Linked DNA regions of Homo sapiens: all the other regions are linked to region 1. The links are contacts of gene promoters, found by promoter capture Hi-C in blood cells and fetal thymus (Javierre and others, 2016). All regions are on one chromosome and are shown on one strand. The core of a region is centred on a gene start or on the middle of the fragment in contact, and the rest is flanking DNA. Distances in the headings are between cores, read along the strand shown.

What was found. Contacts are between HindIII fragments. The CHiCAGO score rates a contact against its expected background, and 5 or more counts as called.
Region 2: a fragment that was not itself captured here is called in contact with the fragment with the promoter of RPF1 in region 1 in 2 of 17 cell types (total CD8 T cells and activated CD4 T cells); the score reaches 5.6 in total CD8 T cells.
Region 3: a fragment that was not itself captured here is called in contact with the fragment with the promoter of RPF1 in region 1 in 2 of 17 cell types (erythroblasts and endothelial precursors); the score reaches 6.4 in erythroblasts.
Region 4: a contact is called between a fragment that was not itself captured here and the fragment with the promoter of RPF1 in region 1, in 6 of 17 cell types (erythroblasts, megakaryocytes, M2 macrophages and 3 more). The highest score is 11.4, in erythroblasts.
Region 5: a contact is called between a fragment that was not itself captured here and the fragment with the promoter of RPF1 in region 1, in 2 of 17 cell types (erythroblasts and endothelial precursors). The highest score is 6.2, in erythroblasts.
Region 6: a contact is called between the fragment with the promoter of MCOLN2 here and the fragment with the promoter of RPF1 in region 1, in 1 of 17 cell types (naive CD8 T cells). The highest score is 5.9, in naive CD8 T cells.

Annotation. Positions count from the first base shown.
Region 1 is chr1:84,477,998-84,480,556 of GRCh38, reverse strand. It overlaps RPF1 (ribosome production factor 1 homolog), which reads right to left and starts at 1,291. Exons shown (of 9, transcript NM_025065.7): 1 at 1,048-1,291. The coding sequence starts at 1,275. RefSeq lists enhancers at 715-874, 1,070-1,630. The HindIII fragment of the contact is 6,088 bases long and covers 1-2,559 here.
Region 2 is chr1:85,252,836-85,255,394 of GRCh38, reverse strand. All of the region lies in intron 2 of C1orf52 (chromosome 1 open reading frame 52), which reads left to right. Among named protein-coding and RNA genes, the nearest start is that of C1orf52, 5.5 kb to the left of the region's middle. The HindIII fragment of the contact is 2,205 bases long and covers 168-2,372 here.
Region 3 is chr1:83,894,879-83,897,437 of GRCh38, reverse strand. All of the region lies in intron 18 of TTLL7 (tubulin tyrosine ligase like 7), which reads left to right. Among named protein-coding and RNA genes, the nearest start is that of LINC01725, 35 kb to the right of the region's middle. The HindIII fragment of the contact is 1,368 bases long and covers 604-1,971 here.
Region 4 is chr1:83,917,886-83,920,444 of GRCh38, reverse strand. TTLL7 (tubulin tyrosine ligase like 7) reads left to right here. Exons shown (of 21, transcript NM_024686.6): 13 at 611-746. Among named protein-coding and RNA genes, the nearest start is that of LINC01725, 58 kb to the right of the region's middle. The HindIII fragment of the contact is 834 bases long and covers 870-1,703 here.
Region 5 is chr1:83,952,191-83,954,749 of GRCh38, reverse strand. It overlaps TTLL7 (tubulin tyrosine ligase like 7), which reads left to right. Exons shown (of 21, transcript NM_024686.6): 2 at 2,363-2,559. The coding sequence starts at 2,539. Among named protein-coding and RNA genes, the nearest start is that of TTLL7-IT1, 31 kb to the left of the region's middle. The HindIII fragment of the contact is 1,438 bases long and covers 565-2,002 here.
Region 6 is chr1:84,995,819-84,998,377 of GRCh38, reverse strand. MCOLN2 (mucolipin TRP cation channel 2) reads left to right here and starts at 1,265. Exons shown (of 14, transcript NM_153259.4): 1 at 1,265-1,582. The coding sequence starts at 1,506. RefSeq lists an enhancer at 1-402 and silencers at 973-1,262, 1,873-1,922. The HindIII fragment of the contact is 4,780 bases long and covers 1-2,559 here.

The DNA.
Region 1 (2,559 bases), core at 42-2,541:
ATAGGAATGGGAGCTGAGTTTTCAGGTTGTTTTCCATAAAACCATCACCAGTTATTCACATATTTTATAATCAAAATATACTTCTAAAATTTAGTAAGAGCTTGCAAGGTGGCTTAAGATTATCTGTATTTGTATTGTCAATCTATATATTCTTCTGGAGATTTCTAGATAGAATGCTTGACAAAATAAAAAATATTCTTTTTTCCCCAGCACCTACTGATCCTCAATCCACCAGGTTTCAGATTAGAAATCATAGCTCCAATAAGTCTTCCAGGACATCCCTCCCCAATACGTGCATACCAGAATGAGTTAAACGCCCCTTGTATGTATTGAAACAGCACCTTGACACTGAACATGAGTAAGAACCAGTCCCGGGCCTCAGAAGGGCCAGTAAGAGGAGGCAGACACATAATAATAATATTGTGTGAACTTCTACGATGTGCAAGAATAAGCAAACGTTTTCTTCCAATTGCAATTTAACCAGAAATGAGCACTGCGACCTTGACAAGTCGTTTAAACCTCTTTACGTTTCAGTTTGTTTACCTACCAGAAACGTATAAGGATAAAGCTGAAAAGAACAAATACAATTACCAGAAACTTTACAGTACTAATTTCGGTAAGGAGCTCCTGCAGGAATCAGAGAAGCAGTATTTTGGATTTATTACGTATTGCCTCCATTTCAGATTCTGCAAATTAACCAACGCTACCTAGACGGACCAAAGGGCTGAGACTTTTGCCTTCTGGGCCAGGAGGGCGTAGTTTTCACTACTAAGCCAACTGGCCTTACAGCTTTCCTTGTGAATCTAGCGTCCCAGGAAAGAGCCTATCAAGATAATCTTCCACCTTGACGCTCAGGCAAAAGGCTGAACCTAGAGTCTCCAAACTAGGGCGAGGGGACCAGAACACGTGGGCCGCGACGCCACCCTTCCCACGGAGCCACAGAGAACACTTTTGAGACCAGCAGACAACCACAGATGTGCGCCCCGCGACCGCCCTAAGCGTCAGGAACAACGCGCAAGCGCCCGGCAGCCCCCGCCTCTCGCGTACCTTCCGCTGCTGCTGTTTCCACCGCGTGAACATTAAGTGTCGCCGCTGTTTGTTTTTAATCTCCGAAATGCTAAAGCCTGGCGGAAAGGCAGCCGCTTTCGGGGGTTGGACCCCGTTTTCCGTCGCCCCATCCCCAGCGCCTGCAGCCTCCTGAAGTTCTTCGGCAGCGGCTTTCCGTTTTAGACTTTTCTTCCCGCTGCTGCTGCTCTTATCCCCGGCTTTCGCCATGGTCTTGGCTCCTTTGCTTCCGTACGGAAACGGAAATAGCCTTCTCCTGTGACCCCCTTCCTTAACCTTTTACTTCCGGGGTCGCAAAGTTTTTGACGCTAGATGTGTTTTGTGAGTTTTAGCCATTCAAGAAAATAGTAAAGCTGAGGCTTGAGGAAACTTTAGGCAGTTTGCCCAGCTGTATAAAGAGTGAGATGATGAGTTTGGGCACTCCTTGCGCATCTATGTGCCCAGCCCTCAAAATAATGGAACAACAACAAAAACCGTGCCTGGATTAGTTTACGTTTTACTTGAGGGAAACCTAAAATGAGCATACAAATAAATTATGGTGAGCTACAGAGTAAGACATGGTATGGAAAAAAAATAGAACAGGATAAAAGAAGATGAAGAGACATTCATCTTTTTGAGACGGAGCCTTGCTTTAATGCCCAGGCTGGAGTGCAGTGGCACGATCTCCGATCACTGCAAACTCCTCCTCCTGAGTAGCTGGGACTACAAACACGTGCCACCATGCCCGGCTAATTTTTGTATTTTTGCAGAGATGGAGTTTCACCATGTTGGCCAGGCTGGTCTTGTACTCTTGATTTCAGGTGATCTGTCCGCCCTGGACTCCCAAAGTACGTTGCAATTTTAAATAGGATTCTCAGAGTAGGCTTCATTGAAAACGTTACATTGAGCCAAGGTTTGAAGGAGGTAATGGGCTAAACTAGTTATCTGAGGGAAGAGCTGTTAATCTGAGAAAAGCTGGTTATCAAGGAGAAAAGCTGTCCTGGCAAAGCAAACAGCCAGCTCCAATGCTCCTAGTCAGTAGCAAGCCAGGAAAGGCAAGAAGTGTTGAGATTGGACAGGTGGTGTAGAGTTTTGTAAGGACTTTGGCTTTTATTTTATGTGAGATGAAGATCTCTTATAGAATTTTGAGGAAAAGAATGGTATGATCTTAACATCTTAAAAGTATCAGGCTGGTGCAGTGGCCCATGCCTGTAATTTTAGCACTTTGGGAGGCCAAGGCAGGAGGATTGCTTGAGCCTGGGAGTTCAAGACCAGCTTTGGCAACACTGTGAGACCCCATGTCTACAAAAAGTAAAAAAATATATATATCTGTTTGGGCATGGTGTACATCTGTGGTCCCAGCTACTCAGGAGGCTGAGGCAGTAGGATCCATTGAGCCTGGAAGGCTAGGTTGCAATGAGCCATGTTGGTGCCACTGCATTCCAGCCTGGGTGAGAGGGTGAGACCCTCTCAAAAAAATAAATAAAAATAAAGTAAAAGCGTCATTCAGAATCT
Region 2 (2,559 bases), core at 21-2,520, 770 kb before region 1:
TATTTTTAGTGGAGATGGGGTTTCAGCATGTTGGCCAGGGTGGTCTCGATCTCCTGACCTCGTGATCCGCCCGCTTCAGCCTCCCAAAGTGCTGGGATTACAGGTGTGAGCCACCGCACCCTGCCACTTCTGGTTTTAGTGGTTGTAAAATGTAGGTAAGCAAAGCTTAGTTATTAGTTGTAGCTTTATTGACATGTATAATAATTAATTGTAAAAGCATAATTAATATAGTGATTTTTAGTTTACACTTTTTAGAATTTAGAAAGTTTGTCTATTGATAAGTTAAACTTACTTGAGTGATTTGAGTTCCATAATAAAAAAATTGTTTCCTTACCAGTACATCTATACTATATGAGACCGAGTAAAAAAGCTCAGTAAAATTGATAAATGAACATTGCTCAGATTTTTTCCTACTCTAGTTTATAAAGCAATGCCTTGTCATGACACTAGATGGCATAGCACTTCTGCTCAAATCACTGATAGCCAGTTACTTTTTAACTTCAGTAGTTTGTGGTTTTGTTATTCAGTTAATTTACTTGTAATAAGTGGCAAATTAAAAGCAAAAATATCTCAGTATCATCTAAATGTATGCTAATGCATAGTGAATATTATAGTAAACTTAGTACTTTCCATTTTTATATTATCACTACTGAAAATCTCAAAAGAGGAGCTTAGTGATAATTAACTCGTTAAAAAGCAAAAGGTGCCGGGTGCGGTGGCTCACGCCTGTAATCCCAGCACTTTGGGAGGCCGAGGTGGGTGGATCACGAGGTCAGGAGATAGAGACCATCCTGGTTAACACCGTGAAACCCCGTCTCTACTAAAAATACAAAAAATTAGCTGGGTGTGATGGCAGGCACCTGTAGTCCCAGCTGCTTGGGAGGCTGAGGCAGGAGAATGGCGTGAACCTGGGAGGTGGAGATTACAATGAGCTGAGATGGTGCCACTGCACTCCATCCTGGGCAACAGAGCAAGACTCCATCTCAAAAAAAAAAAAAAGCAAAACGTTTGGCTTGTTTTGGTGGTATACCATGTTATTTGGTTTGTGGAGCCAGTGTTTTTGTATGAACATGATGAACTACTGATTAAAACTTTGATTTGTAAATTCCTGGGGTGAGTTGATCTGAATTGTATTTTATTCCACTGCCTACATAAATCCATAGTGCTCTGTGAAGCATATGAATAACATCACCGTGCTGTGCTTGAAGGGGAGTGAAGATGAATGGTATTGATTGTTATCTGCATCAATAAATGAGATATTCTGATTATGGTACAGTCAGCAGAAGGGAATTGAAGGCTTAAGATTTTAATATTTCCTTCAAGGAATTTATGATTTGATGTCAGTAGTTCCTCACATTTTTTAATAATGAAGGCTCCTTTCAATATCAAGATATTTTATAGATCTCCACATGATAACCTGTTGAACTTTTTGAGTATCTGTTGATCAAGAAAATAAAGTCAAAAGCTACAATTAATTAGTAATGTGCTCAAAATAAATTTGTATTTTATAAATCATAACATCTTTTCCATGTTACTCTGTCTATATGGAGTTCTTAATACCACACATTTGCTTAGGGAGATGGAATTAGCAACTAGTCTGTGCTACCCTGTATTTTTTTTTTAACCATGTAGTTGGATTTTTTAAAATACAATAAAAGAGTTCACTTTTCCAGGTTTGACAACATTTTTATGAATTGGAAATTTTCTGTGGCTACAGATACTATTAACATTTTGGAAAGGTGTAAAGAACATTGTTTTAATGTAAGGCTCTTCTCTAACCTCCCTCCCCTCTCCAAATTCTCCATAATATGAAGTAGGAAGATATGTATTTTTCTGTTGCCATTAAAATGTTCTGGCCATCGTGGGAGTGGGGATGGGGAGGGCGGGGATGGGAATTAGAACTTACTAGAATAAAATTCCAAATAGAGGTTTGGGGAAACCTACTTGTGAGTGCTTTTTAACCTCAAAATAAGGATTTGGGGTGGGTGGAGAAGGTGATGGGGCAGAAGAAGTTGTTTTTGGAGGAGAGAAAGCAGATTGAAAGGAAAAGGACAGCTGATAGCCACTTAAATAATGTCATCGTTAGAGTGATACCTATTTTTTGTAAAAAGAAAACAATATGCTCCATTCTTACAAAGCATTGATTGTATTTTAATATATACAATGTAAATACTATCATGCAGTGGTGTCCAAGGGAGAGAATACAGTCATGAGTTCTTAGTTTCTGTTATTGGTTGGGCCAATAAAGCCCCTTCATCATCCTTCTTTTCTGCTTATCACTAGAGACAGAAACTAAAAACCATGGCTTCAGGCTGCTAAAAGCCTAAAACAAAACAGAACAACAACAACAAATAAGGCAGGTTGGACAAGCTTGCTGAGTATTTGGGAGCCTTTTTCAAAAGTCTGATTTGGGGGAAGTAAAGTCACTTATTTTAAGCTACCTTAGTATAGCACCTAAAGAGTTACTTTGTGAATTTTGTATGGCTGCAATTGAAAAAAAAAATTGCTCACTTTCACTTGCATTTAAAAATCAGAGCTCTAAAAGTTAATTCTTGTTTT
Region 3 (2,559 bases), core at 38-2,537, 580 kb after region 1:
TTGCCAATTTTATACAAATAATATGCTAGACACTGTTAGGGATTTTGAGAGTTGTTTACTCATTCATTTATTTGCTCACTTAATCATGCATTCAACAGATATTTATTGAGGGACTACCATGCCCCAGGCACTATTCAAGGTATGGAAGCACAAGACTCTTATTTAAGTATCTTAATTCCATTTAGAGACCATTATGGAAATATATATACCACTTTTCCTGTTCCAGGATTGAGGCATTTGTGGTTATTAGCCTGTTGTAAAGCTCCAAGATTAGAATGACATACACACAGAGTCTTTCACATGCTTTCCTTTTTTCTGTTCTTGGAAATTAAAAAAAAATTATTTGCCTTCAAATTTTCCTTAATGGATGTAAAATGTAAAGATCAAGGGTATGGGAATTAAATCCTGAAAAGAACCCTCACCAGGTGAAAATGGAAATAGTTAATCTTATTTAATGTCATGTTGTGGTAACTCCATACTTGCATAATTTAGCTTTCTGCCAAGAATGCAGTTGCTTTATATAGTTTGTGAGGAATATATATGAAGTATGAAAATATAGTCATGTTGGTGGGCTGCAAAGAATGCCAGATTTGCTGAAAAGCTTATTATCTGATGTGATACCTAAACATAAACTAAGAGTGGAGGATGAAGAGAAATAACTAATGACATTAAGGTTGTACTGTATTTGCATTTATTTTAGGGTGCTAAGAGGTCCTTGTTTATCAAGTATTACTTCTCTAAATAGCAATTTATTTTTAATACCTACTGTGGCTGCTTCTGCATGCATTTTGATGATACTATTTTCCGTCTCTGTTTTATTCAGGCTGACATAGATGCTGTTCAGAGCTGTTCGTTTTGCATCAGCAAAGATGCCTTTACCCTATAGCCATCGCTGCTGCATGCATCATTAGTACAGCATGTAGTGATTTTAATGTTATTTCTAAACCGCCTTCACCTCGTGCCATTATTTTAATTTAGGACCAACTGTTCGGCCATATGGAGCAGTTTGTCATTCAACATCTGTATGCTTTTGCAAAATATGAATTTGTCTGTGTGCTTTATGCCTTCAAATGTGCTATATTTCACATGGAAAAGACAAATCTTTTCATTTTATTAATGTTGTCATTGACTGAATCTCCCATTTGTTTTTTCCCTTGGAGAGCTTAATGTTGGATTGGGATGCTTTTAAAAGTCATAATGTAAGGAAATGGATACCTATATTCTATAAATTAGCCTCACGTAAGCCCACAGATAACACAAGGGCACCTTGCTGATCATTTATTTTTGTGTTTCACGAATTATTCATCTTCCATCCAATTTCTTCAATCCCCAAAGGACCAGAAATCCAAAAAAGCATCACAGGTAGAACTAGCACTAATTTATCTCATTCCAGTCTGATTTCTTGCCTGCCTGGTCTGTGCTTTCTTAAAATTATTAAGTGAGTATTTGGCTAAAAGTACAGTCATTGTCTCCCCATCTGTATAGCCTTCTAAACAAACTATTCCTTACTCCGTGGCCATAAAGGAGGGGGTGCCTAGGCAACCTTGTTTTTACACAGTGATCCCACTCTCCTCCCAAATACCATTTGACTAGAAATGAATCTGAATCTAAGAAGAGATAATGGGGTTCTCTCTAGGCTTTTGCTGCTGGCATCTGGAAAATCTAAATTGTGAGGCAGTGCTGGATGTAGTTAAGAGCGTAGGTCTGGATACAATGAGCTGGGTAATCTTGGGCAAGTTACTTATCTGCTTTGTGCCTGAGTTTTCTCATCCATAAAATGGGGATCCAAAATGTTTTCACGACCAAAAAAATTTTCATAACCCCTAGGCAGCAAAACCTAACCTACCTGAATTCATTTGGTGACAATGACCTGACAAGAAGTTATGTATTGATTTTGTCTATCTCTTGGTTTGAATATTTACATTTTTTTCCTGCAGAATTAATAATATGTATGATTATGGAATCTAAGCTTGAGATTTTTGGAAAGGGACTGTGGACCAATAGTATCTACCTCATGTTTTTGTTTTGAGGACTAAATGAGTTAATATATGTAAAAGTGCTTAGAACAGTGCTTGGCACATGGTAAGTTCTCTCAATGATTTTTTACCTTGTCTACATAGGTGTGACTTTCTTGCAAGGAATGACTTACTAAGACAGGAACCTACTAAATGATAGACCTTGTCTTAAGCCTTGGGGACCTGGTAACTTTATTATCAAGATGGGCACAGTTTACTCCCTTTATATGCATAACAGTCTCCATTAATTAAACAGGAAATTAAAATAAAATAAGGTGCTTGCTAATAAAGGAAGAACTGGGCATTAAGATATCAAACAATAGTTCAGTGGCAGGTAAAGTTTTCCTTAGAAGTGGCATTTGAAGTGAAACATAGAAGTTTATCAGATGAAGAGATAGGAGAAGACTGTTTCAGGCAGAGGAAGGAGCTTATGTGAAGACTCAGAGGAGAGTTGAAGGATTTGGGTTCCTGTTCCCTCAGTCTGTTGTTCCATGCCCTCCAAATTATAGGGGTGGGTCTCCGAGGACCAAAGCTTGCCTTCTTG
Region 4 (2,559 bases), core at 37-2,536, 560 kb after region 1:
TTCTCTCTACTAGAGAGGCAAATTCCACCACTACAAAAGAGATCATCAGAACCACTGCTTACATTTTTGTATACTTCAGTAACCACACTAAGTAAAAACACTCCTGCAGTATCCCTTATTACCTGAACACTCTCCTATAAAGTTCAGTATTTCTCCAATTTGCCCAATCACCATTCTTCCCCAACCATTTCCCCCCAACTAAACCCTTATACTGTACCTTCTGGAACTGCATTGTTTAATGCTAATTCTCTAGATAAACTTTGTTTGTGGATTTGTGCCACTATTAATGAATAGACTGAAAACCTTCATAAAGTTCTAAAAATACTCTTGTGCAATCATTAAAGTTTTGAAAGAATTTTATTAATTAGTGCCCAGTCAGCAAATACTCACATTAGAAAGTTACTAAGTGAATCTATTAGGCCAGTTATCAGTTTTCTGTCTGGAGGTTTAATATTTAATATCATTTTGCACTAATCAGTATAGAAATGCTTATACCTGGCAATGTGACTGGTATAGAATAGATGGTCAAGGATTGTCTATGGAGTTGATGTTAACTATTGAGCTACGACAGCTTCTTTTTAAAAAATTGGTTTATCTGATTTTGTTGTAGACGAATTTATCCTCCTGAAGATAAAGCATTACTTGAAAAGTATGAAAATTTGTTAGCTGTTGCCTTTCAGACCTTCCTTTCAGGAAGAGCAGCTTCATTCCAGCGAGAGTTGAATAATCCTTTGAAAAGGATGAAGGTAAGAGAATGAATGTTTATATAGAGAAAAAAGAATAAAGCTAAACAATATGTCTTTACAGACAAGCCACCTTGGTCCGACATATAAAAACATTTTACTTTTAAGATATGCTTTCCCCAAGCTTTCTATTTTAACAGTTGGTAACATTTCATGATGAACCAACTTACTTCATAAGATATCTACCAAGAAAAATTATGGAGTAGAGAATTGTGATATTATGTTGTAATATCAATATATTATAATAACGTATCTTCTTACATAGATGTGTATATGTAACTGGATAAAGAAACCCATGGAATTAACCTAGTGGTTTGTAGCGTTTTTATTTTTTGGATTATAACAAACATTACATAATACTTTTTCTTGATGCTATGTAGATCTAGCATATGAGAGGAAGTAAATGAAACACACACACACACACACACACACACACACACACTCTAATCTGTACACCATAGTAAAAGGTCTAGCAGTTTTCTATTATAGCATAACAAACCACTTCATTTATTTGCTCATTACTCTGCAATCGTGGCTGGGCACAGCTGAGTGGTTCTTCCGCTTGTCTTTCCTGGGGTGAATCATATAGTAGCATGTATCTGAATGCCCAACTGGGGCTAGAAATCCAGGGTAGCTTCACTCACATGTCTGGTGTGTCAGATAAGATAGCTGAAACATCTGGGAGCTGGCTGGTATCTCTTTCTCCCTACACAGTCTCTCAGCAGGGTAGTCAGACCTCTCAATATAGTAGCTCAGGATTCTAAAAGGGAGCATTTCAAGAAGATTCTTTTTATCCTAGTAGGAGCTCTCTATTTTAGACTTGATCTCTGCCTACATATGTCCAGACATGACAGATGACCCCAAAGAAGAAAATGGCCACTCATCTCTGCTCACCTAGGAAGAACTTGTTCCTCTTTGGAATTTAGTTTCTTTACATTACTTTTTACCTAAAGTAAAGCTTTCTGATGTTTTAGAAAATATGATTGTTTAGTTTATCTGGCCTTTTCTGGCTGTTATGATGAAAGTATTATCTGTTATATTTCTCCTAAACAGAAGCAGAACTCCTTGAGTTTCTTTTTGGCTATATTGTACTGCTATCCATGGAATTCATTGTAAGATTATTATTTAATAAAAAATGTATAATAAGAGTATTTTGGGATTTCAATAGCTAAATTTCCTTAGATTGGGACAAAGAGTAACTTACTTTACACATTTCTACTGCACAGTGAGATTTCTAGTTTCTTCAAAAACCTTTTCTAGAATCCTTTCTTAAATAACTAAATGATACAGTTGATTATACCTCTTTCAGTGTAGCTATTATACTCGTATTGTCCTGGCTTGCCTAATATCCACTGGGGTATATGCTTTTACAAAATTTCCTTTTGATTCAGAATATGACTCTAGTAGAACGCAGGAAAGGTGTTAGGGCACTTGTGGCTTTTTGCTACCTTTGATGACTATAGAATGAAAACCTTTATAAAGTTCTAAAAATACTTTGTGCAATCATTAAAATTTTGAAAGAGTTTCATTAAATAGTGCCCAGTCAGCAAATACTCACATTAGAATGTTTCTAAGTGAAACTGTTAGTCCAATTATCAGTTTTCTGTCTGGAGGTTTAATATCATTTTGCACTAATCTGTATAGAAATGATTCATAAACTTGAAATCTGGAAAACAGCATGAACTTTCCAGAAATTTTAGTGTCCAATGGGCTAATTTATTGAAGTATTATACTCTAAGATTTTAATACTATACTGTACTATAAAGATACATTTGTTTAGGATAATTAATACAGAATAGATTTTGGCTATGTATTA
Region 5 (2,559 bases), core at 34-2,533, 530 kb after region 1:
AGCTATTATTTGTTGCATTGTCATCGTGTGCTTACAGTAGAGGTTCTCAACCTTAGCTGCACTGGAATCACATGAAGAGCTTTAGAAATGCTGATGGTTGGGCCCCACTTAGTTCTGGGGTGTGGCCTGGACAGCAGGATTTTCAAAAGCTCCTCATTCAGGCAATTCTGCTTTGCAGCCAAGGTTGAGAAGCCATTGGCTTAAAGCATTTCAGAGGTAACTGAAACATGTTTTCTGCTTTTGGAAAGTAGGTAACTATGGTTTCAAATGAGTGGTGGGATAAATCCGTCATCTCAAATCTCTTGCTTAGAATAAAGCTGATTAGAATTGCCATGGTTGAATGAAGTCCTTGAGTTTGTTAAAGCACTTTGACTAAGGCATAAATGGAATTAAGTAAAGCGCATATATGCATAGTATAATTTTAAGAACTTTAAATTCCTGTATGCCTTGGGGAAGGGATAAAAGTTCTTGTTTTGAACTCTGTACAAATCAGCCATTTGACTTATTATTTAAGTCAAAAACTAACAAATTTGTTTTTAGAATCTAGTATAGTTAGGTGAAGCTTGTTTTTAAAGTCTTGTTGACTTTGTCACCTACTTTCAATGTAATAAGTATTCTGTTACTGTAAAGGGGATCTTTGTTTACTCCAGTAACAAGATGTTGGACAAAAAACTTGTAAACTCAAATAGTTACTTCCCTGAGGTTTCAGAGAGCCTCCAGAAAGAAACTGAACTAAACTTTACACTACTCCTTTCTTTTATTCTGAGAAGTGATCCAGTCTGTTTCCAGCTTGGCATTGGGAGCTGAGATCAGTTTAGAGATGTTTTACTGTGAATTCACTGTTTGAAGTATTGCAAATTCCCAGAATATGGCCATATCTTGCGGCATGTACTGCAGTAGGGTTGGAAACTTCTCATATGTCTATATATTATGTTAGCATGGGGTCTGAAAATAGGGGAGCTTAATGAATAGAATAATTAGAATTGGGTTTAAAGTCTAAGTTTTCTATTTCTAAGCCATGTTACCTTGATTTGTTTAACTTATCTAGCCTTAGTTTCTTTTTCTGGAAAATAGGGAGAAATGATACCTAAATTTAAAGTTTGTTAATGAAATAAAATATTTAAAATGCTTAATAAAATGCCTACCTACAGTTGGTCTGTAATAAATAAAAGTTCCCCGTTTTGATATTGAATTATACTAGACAATCATTTTAGTAAAAATGATACCTGAGAACAAATAAAACCCTAAATTTTCTTTAATATTGAAACATTAATAATAATGAATATTTGGAGTGATATAGGACTCACGTTTTATGTAGCTGAATGTTGGATGTTTCTGAATTTCTGATAAACTTGACAATCTAATAAAGGTGTTGATATTATACCTTTGCTTATCATAATAGGTTTTATTTTTCATTGTGTTTATAGATATTTTACAAGAACTGAAGGATTCTTACAATAAGGAGAAATTAGAAAGTTGATAGTACAGACTGAACAATATGGTATTGTTAGGGCATAAATGCCTACGTTCATATATTTACAATGAAAATACAAGCAAAGTGTACTATAGGCCATGTTGAGATGTAGCCAGATCAAATTAATTCATTGATTGTTGCATTCCTCTGTGTGCCTGAATAAAATCATCATAATAATGACCCCACCCATTTTCTGTCCTTCAAAACTGTTCTCATTTTTTAAGGCACAATTCAAGATGTGGTTTACTTTATTAAGTTGTCCCCCATAATCCTTTATATAGGAATCACTTCTCTGCATTCTGTCAACATGTGACCTCTACCCTGCCTGGCACTTTTCACTGTCTCATATTAAAAGCAGTGTTTCAGGCATTGGGTTGAAGGTTGTGTGGGTTTCTAAATAAGACACTCTGGCATTGACATTAGAAGAATCTTCATTTTAATCTCTGTGTTGTAATTTTCTTTGTAAAGATACACAAAATAATTTGTCCTTTCTAAGCTCAACTTATCTGTAAGATGGGGATAAAAGCTTCTACCTTACAGGTTTGTTGAAAGATTAAATGGTATAATATAAATGCCTAAGATAATAAGTGTTCAATAAATAGTAGTGAATATTGTTATTGCTGTTATTGTTTGTGTATAGTATATTATTTATTGAATATACATGTGACACGTGACTTAATAAAACTTCTTCCCCTAGACTATGCATTCTTTCAGGATAGGAAAGCATCACTTGGCATTTTGCGTAAGGTTTAATAAACCGATTTACAATTATTTGTTGATTGAACACATTAACTTTCACCTTGACTTTTAAAAAGAATAGTCTTGGCATATATGAAAAAAAATTCAAAAAAGTTTTTTCTAAATGACCTTGTTTTAAAATCACTGCAGGTACCTTGTTATCCCATAACTTTGGTATCCTGAAATCTGAGGATTCCACCAAGATAATATGATAAGAACTTTCAGTGATTTGGGGCCATATCCTACTTAGACTAATGTGGAATTTCCAGATTTCCTGAGAGCTTGGTACAGCAGCACACACTGCTTGCTAATCAGCACAGGCAATAATGCCATCTCTGCCTCAAGAA
Region 6 (2,559 bases), core at 16-2,515, 520 kb before region 1:
GAGGGAAAAGCAACGGCGGCTGCAGCAGGGCGCTGGGGTTACGAGTCCAGCCCTGGGGCCGTGCGCCCTCCCTCCGCGCCCGCCGGGCCACGCTGACGCTCCCTCCCGGCTCCCTGCCTTTCATCCCGACGCGGGCGCAGGGCAACTCGCTTTTCCTATTCCTTGCGCGCCGGTCGCACTTTCTAACATCTCAGAAATATGGCCCTTGTCACAGACTTTCATGATCGTGCACTTTAGAGAAAAGCCAGAATGAATGAACTTGTCAGTTTAATGTGAAGTCCTCAAGGGAAAGGACCATGTCTTTGTCATCCCAGAGACCACAGTACCCAACGGTCGGCTTGGCTCTCAGTGAGTGTTTCCCTAAGCATCAAAACAGGAATGACCAAAGCAACGGACAAATTAATGCATGTGGAAACAAGAAATGAATGCATGAGAGAGTGAAGAAAAGAAGGGGCCAGGCGCAGCGGCTTACACCTGTAATCCTAGCACTTTGGGAGGCGGAGGCAGGAGAATCGCTTGGGTCCAGGAGTTCAAGACTGCAGTCAGCAGTGATCGCAGGTCAGGCGACAGAGTGAGACCCGGTCTCACCACCACCCCCCCGAAAAAGGCAGGAACCCCAGAGGGCCGGGAGTGCCAGGTGCGGCCGCCCGGGAGCGGTGTGGAGGGTGCGTGGGCCACTTTGCCGCAGGGCCCACCGCCCGGGTCCCTCTGTAAGGCGCTTCTCCGGCAGACACCCCGAGCCAAAGCGGGCCGTACCGCAGCGTTGGGCACTTGGGTGGAGAGTGCAAGGGCGGCGGGCCTGCGCCCAGACAGGTGTAGCCGTCCCACGCTAGGTGTCCTCCTGCCGCTCCCTGGCCGCGCCATGCCTCGAGGCATGGAGGTGCTGGACCTGCCGGTGTGCAACCGCGCCTCGGGCCTGTCCTGGGGGCCGCACCACAGGTCAGTGCCCCACGGCGCCCTTGGCGTGCCCCACGCCTCCCTGGGGGCCCCACCGCCGCCCCCTTTTGGGACTGCTTACTTCCTCGGCTCTTCTCGCGCGCGCCTCGGTTCCATCCCCTACGGCCCCCACCCCGCCTCCGCGTCGCCGACCCCCTTCTCCGGGAGCGCGGGGAGGCTGGTCCGCTGAAGCGTGGAATAAGTCCCCTAGGACCCCAACTGGGGAAGCTCCGGTCCCCGGTAGGAGGCGGCGGGGCGGGGCGGGGCGGGGCAGCCCCTTGGGGGCGGGGCGGGAGCGCCTGGCCACGCGCCGCATCCTGCAGGGTGCACACAGAGCCGCCTTTCAGCCGCCCGAGAACTGCCCGCCGCACTCCACGACTGCGGCGCCTGCTCTCGGGCCGGGGTCTGCGCGCACCACGCGGCCGGCAGAAAGGGTAAGAGAAGGGAACCCCGCTTTGCAGGGCTCCAACTTCGGCGGACGCGTTACGGCGAGGGCGAAATGAGTCGGCCGTGAACGGTGTTTCCTGTTCCGAATCCCGAGAGCCCTGGAAAGTTTTGAAGGAGGAGGCATGGCCCGGCAGCCTTATCGTTTTCCCCAGGCAAGGATTCCGGAGAGAGGATCAGGTGTTTTCAGGTTAACCGTCAGGTGAGGAGTCTGGGCTTCATCTTTCAGGATGCTGGACTGGAGAAATCTTCCTAAAGTCGATGGCTTTACTTTCGTAGACTAGAGCTTGCTTGCTGCCTTGGGAATGCTTATATTAACTGCTTGCAGTTAGTTAAATAAGGCTAGGCTGTGCCTTCCAGAACAAACAGGCCTTTCCCTCAGGTGGGAGGGTTGTAGTGTGGCTAACCCCAGTTCCTCGGCCTTTATGAAAAGGCGCACAGTTCAGCCGGTTGGCGCTGCCAGCGGGCCCCTCCTCCGTGGTCAAACCTCCAGCCACCCCAGCACAGTTGAGCCAAAGTTGTGAGTACAAACAGACCTTGGCTCCCCCGTTTCCTGCTCTCCAAACATATATATATATATATATATATATATATATATATATATGAAATATATACGTATGTGTAAGTGTGTGTGTCTCTGGTTGAACGGTACTTGTGGGAAACAAAATTGTGTGTCATTGTAAACTGAGAATGGAAGAAAAGGTTAGTAAGAGAAAGGTGGGAGAGGTTTCTTATGGGTGTCAGGATGTAGACTCTGATATTTTATGTAGAGGGAACCAACTACGTAGTTCTCCCCAGAAATGGGATGTGGGTTTCACTCTCAGGAGCTGCTCATCACCTTTGTGATGTGCTAACCAAAATCGCACAACTTTTGGGAAATTTGATAGCTTTCCCCTATTGAGTCAGAAGTTTCTTGAGACTTTAGCCTGTCTTCCTCTTCATACCTTAAGAGGAGTCAAACTCCCGTTGCCGTGAACTTTCCACAGGCACACCCTTCTCCTTTAGAAAACCGTTCATAGGTCAGTTTCTGTGGCCGGAACTCTAAAAACGACACATTTTCCATACAGAGGCCATCATAATACCAATTTTATTTAACCTCCTGTAATAAAAAATGAGTGAATCCTAATAAAGTGTTTGAGGTAGCCACATTCTTTTCTGTGAAGGAGGAACATATCAAAA